Regions from separate parts of the Homo sapiens genome. Here region 2 is linked to region 1. The links are contacts of gene promoters, found by promoter capture Hi-C in blood cells and fetal thymus (Javierre and others, 2016). All regions are on one chromosome and are shown on one strand. The core of a region is centred on a gene start or on the middle of the fragment in contact, and the rest is flanking DNA. Distances in the headings are between cores, read along the strand shown. Region 1 holds the start of RNF25 (ring finger protein 25). Region 2 holds the start of CHPF (chondroitin polymerizing factor).

What was found. The method cuts DNA at HindIII sites, captures the fragments that hold promoters and counts their contacts. A CHiCAGO score of 5 or more calls a contact.
Region 2: the fragment with the promoter of CHPF here is called in contact with the fragment with the promoter of RNF25 in region 1 in 2 of 17 cell types (total CD8 T cells and naive CD8 T cells); the score reaches 6.4 in total CD8 T cells.

What each region holds. Positions count from the first base shown.
Region 1 is chr2:218,670,503-218,674,521 of GRCh38, forward strand. RNF25 (ring finger protein 25) reads right to left here and starts at 1,500. Exons shown (of 10, transcript NM_022453.3): 1 at 1,428-1,500. The coding sequence starts at 1,468. It overlaps STK36 (serine/threonine kinase 36), which reads left to right and starts at 1,584. Exons shown (of 27, transcript NM_015690.5): 1 at 1,584-1,713; 2 at 2,239-2,411; 3 at 3,123-3,263; 4 at 3,377-3,454. The coding sequence starts at 2,328. RefSeq lists an enhancer at 1,405-1,504. The HindIII fragment of the contact is 1,597 bases long and covers 952-2,548 here.
Region 2 is chr2:219,542,050-219,545,701 of GRCh38, forward strand. It overlaps CHPF (chondroitin polymerizing factor), which reads right to left and starts at 1,760. Exons shown (of 4, transcript NM_024536.6): 1 at 1,176-1,760; 2 at 1-140. The coding sequence starts at 1,489. It overlaps TMEM198 (transmembrane protein 198), which reads left to right and starts at 1,979. Exons shown (of 5, transcript NM_001005209.3): 1 at 1,979-2,328; 2 at 2,640-2,844. The coding sequence starts at 2,679. RefSeq lists silencers at 1,192-1,281, 1,292-2,001, 2,042-2,181. The HindIII fragment of the contact is 11,388 bases long and covers 161-3,652 here.

The DNA of each region.
Region 1 (4,019 bases), core at 250-2,749:
GGCTAACAGGGTGAAACCCCGTCTCTACTAAAAATCACAAAAAATTAGCTGGGTGTGGTGGCGGGCGCCTGTAGTCCCAGCTACTCGGGAGGCTGAGGCAGGAGAATGGCATGAACCCGGGAGGCGGAGCTTGCAGTGAACCGAGATTGCGCCACTGCACTCCAGCCTGGGCGACAGAGCAAGACTCCGTCTCAAAAAAAAAAAAAAAAAAAAAAAAAATTGGGGGAGTGGGGACTGAAGAATGTCCTAGTACAAAGAATCTAAGGTGTGGAGTCAGACAGATATGGATTTCTATTCATAATTTTCTATCTTTTGGCAAATCACTTTACTTCTTTGGGACTCATCTAGTCTTCCCAGGTGCCTGCACCTCAGTTATTAATGAAAAGGAGGCCGGGTGTGGTGGCTCACGCCTGTAATTCCAGCACCTTGGGAGGCTGAGGTGGGAGGATCACTTGAACCCAGGGGTTCAAGACCAGTCTGGCCAACATGGCAAAACTCCGTCTCTACAAAAAATACAAAAATTAGCCAGGCATGGTGGCACACACCTGTAGTCTCAGCTACTCGGAAGGCTGAGGCAGAAGGATCACCTGAGCCTGGGGAGGTCGAGGCTGCAGTGAGCCGTAATCGCACCACCGCACTCCAGCGTGGGCGAGAGTGAGACTCTGTCTCAAAAAACAAAACAAAACAAAACAAAAAACAGACTTAAGTATATTACAAATCCGTCGTGATCCTCTCAACTATTCTGAGGTAAATGCCACACCCACTTTTTTTTTTTACAGCTGAGGACACTGACTCACAGAAGCTAGATGGCCTGTTCAGCATCACACAGCTAATAAAATGTGGAGTTAACCCACATTGATCCTACTTCCAAATCCCAGAGTCCTTCCATGTTCTAGTCTTTGGTTAAGAATGCTTGAGAGAAGGACTAGAGGGACTTTATATGAAGTGTAAAGCTTTATTCATACAATAGTCCTCACTAGTGCTGTGTGAGAGAGAGAAGGCTGAGGAAAGCGTCGGCGGAAAAAGGCTGATCCAAGGGGAAAGGGGGCCGGAACTGGAGGGCACTGGTTCTGAGAGGAGAAAGGGAGATGGGGAGGTCTGATGGGCAGGCATCCCCCAAAGCCCCTGAGAAAATTCATTTGAGGAGGAGAGAAAGGGATGGCGTGAAGCTGGAGGAAAAGGGATCGAACCGGATGCGGCGAGGCCTGAACTGGCCTGGCGGGCGCCGACCCGTTCTCCTCTCACTCAGATCAGCGCCCCTCCACCCTCCCGTTCCCCAGTCCAGCTTTCCCAGAGATGTCAGCATCTCTGCCATCCCTCATCCCTCGCTCCACCCCACACGCCCGCCGTACGGACCGTCTGCGACAGCTGCTAGGCCTCTGGACTAGATCCAGGCTGTCAGCCAAAGCCCATGCCCCCAAAGTTACCAGTCCTCCTCCCCTGCAGCTGCAGACGCAGACGCCGCCATATCTTCACCGGCCCGCAGCCGGAACCGGAAATGCCCTTAGGGAAGTCGGAGGCGGAAAACTAAGAGGGGTGGGCAGCTAGCGTCGTTTCTAGGCAACCGCAGACTCCGGGTCCTTAGCCGGGCCTGATGGCCCTGAGGCAGTTCGGATGTGTCCCAGGAAGTGCCCATGTGTGGTCCGCCGTCCATTCCACACCTCTGAGCGCCTTTGTCCTCTGAACTTCTCACCAGTTCTAGCGAGTAAAATTGTAAGAAAGGGAGCCGAAAGAGACCGGAGGGAGAGGCGGGTGGAGAAGAATTATAAGTCAGGCAACGTATGCAGGCAGCCAGAAGAGATGGGGCTAAACGCCAGGGAATCCGTCCCTTGGCCTGAGGAGCTTGGAGCTCCTAGGCTGGGGGTGAGAGAGGGGCTCTGGCCTGCGAAGCGCACGGGCCAGGGGGTCTGAGAGCGGGTGCTGAGGAGTCTGGGAGTGGCAGGAACTTGGGGGAGACTCAAAGGAGCAGGGTTGGTTGGGCGAGGCTAGGTTGAAAGAGTAGGGTCGAGTGAGCCAGGCTGGGTGAGGGAGAAGGGGAACCAGGTGTTAGTTGGGCATGGGGCCGGGTTGGGGACAGGAGGATGAAAGTGGGGAGGAACTACAAAGAGAAGCTCTGTTTGTTCCAAGAGCGCATCATCTTTGCATGCATTCCACCCTCCCATGTTTTTTGAGGCTTTATTGTGAAAAAGAGGAAAAGGCAAGGTGGCTAACATTTTTCCTTTCCCGTGCCCCAACTAGGCGTCCCAGATGTTGTGGAACTGTCCCTGGATCTATAGCTCTTCACCGTCTCTACTTTCTTCCTTCTAAGAGATCCTGAAACCTCTGTCATGGAAAAGTACCACGTGTTGGAGATGATTGGAGAAGGCTCTTTTGGGAGGGTGTACAAGGGTCGAAGAAAATACAGTGCTCAGGTGTTGCACAAAGAGGGATACCTTTTGGGTGGGATTTGGTACCCCCAACTCCAGTGGAAAATGGATCTAGAAGGAATGTATTTATACCAGTTTGTATTCCTAAGGTACTGACTCCCTCATACTTCTTATGGAGTATAAGCTTTGAAGTTGGATTATTTGGGTGCAAATTCCATCTCCACCGCTTTCTAGCCCTAGAATTATGGACAAATTACTTAACTTCCCTATGTCTCAATTTCCTTATCTCTAGAATGGGGATAAGAACAGCAACTGATTGATGGAGTTTGAGGATTAAATATGTTTTCACATTAAATCACTTAGTACAGTGCCTGGCTGTTAGTAAACAACAAATATTATTAGTCTCTAGCACACCATGTAATAAGAGGTAAACCACTTGAACTCTATTATTTCCTCTTCATTTTTTTTTTCCTTTCCTTTCTCCTAAATCTCATCTTGAGTGCTGGTCAAATCAGAACACTTCTTCCAGAAGGGGAAATGTTTTGCAGATGCTGTTTCCTCCTGGGATGAGGAATGGGGAAAGCCTGGATAAGGCCAGGGTACCATGGAGAAAATGGAAGCGGGAGACTAACAGAAATAATAAGAGTTACTCAAACACTCTAAAATCTGACTTCTGGAGCTCTGAGATTAAGGCTGAAATTCTAGATCTTTTCAGTAGTGTGATTAGGCGTTAACTTTTCACCTTACCACTGACAGGTCGTGGCCCTGAAGTTCATCCCAAAATTGGGGCGCTCAGAGAAGGAGCTGAGGAATTTGCAACGAGAGATTGAAATAATGCGGGGTCTGCGGCATCCCAACATTGTGCATATGCTTGACAGCTTTGAAACTGATAAAGAGGTGTGCTTTGACAGTTTTGGGCCCTGTCTCCCCAAGCACAAGGGTTCCAGGAATTTCCCAACCTCAGAATGCATGAATCTGGAGCCATCAGTGCCACTGCCTTCTCTCTGTAGGTGGTGGTGGTGACAGACTATGCTGAGGGAGAGCTCTTTCAGATCCTAGAAGATGACGGAAAACTTCCTGAAGACCAGGTATGCTTTCTGCCTTCAACTTCTCCCCACCTCCGACCTCTCTCCAGGTTAGAGAACTGGTAGAGCAAGCTAAGGACACTGAGAGTCTCCATTTCAAAGACTTCTGAGAAGAATATAAGAGTCTAGGTATATAGAGGCAGTGTAGTGTGGGAGTAAATTATGTAAACGTTGGAGTCAAAATATCTGAGCAGGAAGCTTGGCTCTGCTCCTTCCTAGCTGGGTCTCATTGGACAAGTTACTTTAATTTCTTTGTGCTTAGTTTCCTAATTTGTAAAATGGAGATAATAATCATGTTTGCCTGATAAGTCTATGATGAAGAGTGTTAAGTCATGTAATGTGTTTGAATAGTTAGCTATTATTAACATTATTGTTATTAGATACCTTTAGGGAAGAAGGGCCAGTGTAATGGTACCAGAAAGAGGGCAGTAAGAATAAAGGTTGTGGGGAGTCAGGATTTGGCACCAGGACGTAGTGGTTAGCAGTGGGATTTTGTTGCACATATCCTCCAGCCACATTTATTCTAGGCGTTTGTCTGTACCCAAGCAAGTAGGCCCCCCCTGGGATT
Region 2 (3,652 bases), core at 510-3,009, 870 kb after region 1:
TCAGGAACACCACACGCTCCAGCCGGTGCCCCAGCGTGCGGTTCACGGCCACGCCCAGCGTGGGCAGCGTGGTCTGAGAGGTCAGCACCGCCACCAGCAGCCTCTGCCTGATGCCCAGCTCCGTGCTGATGTAGCGGGTCCTAGGGGAGGAGATGGCACAAGCTTATCAAAAGGACAACGGGGCGGGGGGTGGGGGGGAGGTGGTCAGCACAGACCCTGGCAGGTCACGTCTTCTCTGTATCTGTTCTCTCACCTATGAATAGGTTAAAAATAAACCCTCTCTCCCAGGGGTCATGAGGATTTAAACGAAATGGTCTTAAACAGGTAGTGCTTTGCATTTGGGAGATGGCAATACCCACCCAGATAGGAGAGAGATATTGTGGGTCTGACTCCGGGGTTCGCTACTTAGTAGTTATGTCCTTGAGCATGTTATTTAACCTGAGCCATCTGTAAAATGGGACTGATTATATCTGTTTAAAGCACCCAGCCAAACGCTGGACACACCATGTATCTACTCATTTCTATATAAATATGCCATTATGCCACAAATGCCTCACATAAATGACATAAAGGAACGTTTGGCATAGGGGTGTACTGAGTGTTTTTGCGGGGAGGGGCAAACTGCACTCAGGGGCTCTAGGAACTTACCTTTTGGTAAGGCAGAAGGTAAATTGCAGAACCAGCATTTGAACCCAATGTTACTTAGAAGTTATTTCAACTCATCAGCAGAGACATTAATGAGATAGGTACATTCCTCCCTCCCCCATCTCACCCTGAGGTGGCCCTTGTAACCCACTCAGGAACAAGAGATCCAGGTAAATCCTAGTTCTCTCCTTTCTCTTCCCCTGTCTCTATACACTCACCCTATATATAAGTCATTTCTCTAACACCAGCAGCCCAGCCAGGGAGCTAGTAGGATCTCTGGGGCGCCATCGGGTCGAGCCGGTTTAGGACACAGTCCAGTAAGTTCAGCCCAGGCCGGGATAGGGCCCAGAGAAAGTCTCGGACTGGCCCCACGGCTCTCGGGAAGGCAGGGCCATCGGAAGTTATCGGGGCCCAAAGACTTCCTGGCTCGCCAGCCCCTTCCTTCCGGAGCCTGACCCGGGCCCGGGCGACCTCCCCGCGCGCTTCCCGGCCGCTGCCCAGGGGGTAGAGCGGGCGCAGCCGATCACTACCTGACGGCCTTTTTGGCGGCCTGGCCGGGCTGTGCAGGGTGGTAGGGCAAGACGCGCGGCTCCCAATTCTCCCCGGCGCCTTCGCCGGCCCCGGGCTTCTCGCGCTCCGCTCCGGGCTGCACCGAGTTGGGCCGGCGCGCCGCGTTGGTGTTGCCGCGCGGCGGCAGCTCAGAGTCTCCAGGTTGGGGCGGGCCTGGGCCGCACGGCTCCTCCACCCAGGTGACGCTGAGCAGGCTCAGGGTGAAGCCCAGGGAGATGCCCACGGCCACGGGCCCTGCGGGCCGCAGCACCGACAGCAGCAGCGATGCCCGCATGGCGCCCGGACCGCGGGTCCCCGGCCCCGGCGAACCCCCAGAGCAGCCAGAGGAGTCTCCGAGGGGGCGGGACCGGGGAGGGGGCGGATCCGGAGGGCTCGGGCCCCGCGGGCGGGCCCGCTCCCTCCCCGCAGAGCAGAGCCAGCGGCCCGAGCCGAATCCCCGGAGCCGCGCCTCGATTCCCCTCCAGCAGCTGCTCTGGGCTGCGCAGGGTTCTTGCGCTCGGCACTGGAGCCTCAGCCGCGGCCGCAGCTGTCCGACGTGTCACTGCAAGGGCCCCGCCCCCGGGGTGGGGTCTCGGGCTCTCGCTACCGGAGAGGGAGGAGAAGGGGGAGGTTAAAGGGGAAGGACCCCCGGAAGTGCCCCCTCCTCAGTGCGGGAGAGGGAGACGCCGGGGGCGGAGTCCCCTGCCTCCCGCGGCGTGGTTGGTGCGTCCCATGTGACGTCAGAAGCAGCCCGCCCCTGCCTGGATGGTGCGCCCTGAGTGACGTCAGGAGCAGAGGCCGGAGCTGTCCATCAGCACCAAAGGCCGCGGGCGGGCTCAGGGCATGGGGCCGCGGTTCTGGGGCGGCCCGAGCCCCGGCTCCTGCGCCTTCCCCTTCCTCAGGCCCAGCCCGAGTTCCCGGACGCCGCGGGACTGGAGTGCCAGCCGGTGTTGGACGTGGAGCGGCGCCGCCACCGCGCCGACACCATTCTCTCCGGCCCAGCAGCCCCCTTCCTCGCACGACGGACTTTCCCTGGACCCCAGTCAGTTGGAGCCTCTGGCGCCCCGCAACCCCGGCCCCTCGGGCCTCTGCACAGCCTCTTTCACTCAGAAGCTCAGGTCGCCTCCAGCCCAGGTAAATCTTGGACAATCCCATATTGAGCCGCCCACAGATGAATCTCTTGGCTGCCTCCTTCTCACTGGCAGCACGCTCCCTTCATCCCCCCGACTCCCGTCCCTCTTTTAACTTCATCCCAGCCTCCACTAGCCAGGCACTTTTGTTTCCCTTTGTCTTTGCTCCCCACTCCAGAGATGCTTCCGGAGCTGCACAAATGTGGATACTATTCCTTTGTCCACTGTCCTTGCTGAGTTCTCCCAATCCCTCTCCCACCCCCATCCTGGTGGGGACCCAGGACTCCTCCGTGACCCCAACTTTCCCTCTGTCAGGTTAACTTGGGAGGGTGACTCCCTTCTATTCCCAGCACTATGCCGGGGACTGTGGCAACACTGCGGTTCCAGCTGCTGCCCCCTGAGCCAGATGATGCCTTCTGGGGTGCACCTTGTGAACAGCCCCTGGAGCGCAGGTACCAGGCACTGCCGGCCCTCGTCTGCATCATGTGCTGTTTGTTTGGAGTCGTCTACTGCTTCTTCGGTGAGATCCCCATCTCATCCCTCACCTGGGCTCCCCAGTGTTTCCCCGAGTTCTTTTTCTGGGCCCCCAAGTCTTCTCTGAATCCCTCTACCATCATGAATAATTCTTCCTTTTCTTTCATCCCACACATTTATAGATTGTCTAGACTCTAGATTATAGGAAAAACAGGTTTTTGGATTAGGCACACCTGAGTGTGAATTTACTTAGCTTTGCAGTTACTAATTGTGATGTCTTGGGCACATTAATCTGTCTGAGCCTCAGTTTTCTCATCTGAACAATGATCACAATATTTGTCTCATGTAGTGTTGTAAGAATTAGTAAGCATTCAATAAATTGTAGCTATTGTGAGGATGTGTTTGGCTAACTGTGCTAGGTAGCCACTGAAAACACTTAGCAGGGTTATTACACATGGTCCCTTACCACAGGGCATATTGTCTGACAGGGAGGAGACTCCCTGGAGCATTTACACCTGGGATACATATTAGAGTGGGCTGGATGGTGGTCACACACATCCATCCAGCCTACAAGGCAGGCTCCGGTAATCAGAGCTGCTGTGAATACTTGTACAGGACGGGTACTAAATAAGGGAGCTCAGCTGAGTGGGCAAGTGGGGGCTAAAGTCCAGCTCATGCTCTGACAAACTCTGGGCCTTGGCACAAAGCTGCTTTGCCTAGAGAAAGGCACACCTTTTTCTAATATGCATAAAGGTGCCAGATGGGCTAGTGGCCCAGTATAATGGGAGTAAGTGACCAGTGGCTTTGCAGCAAGAGTTACAGAACTTCAGAGAGGAGAGTGAGCTCTATGGGCT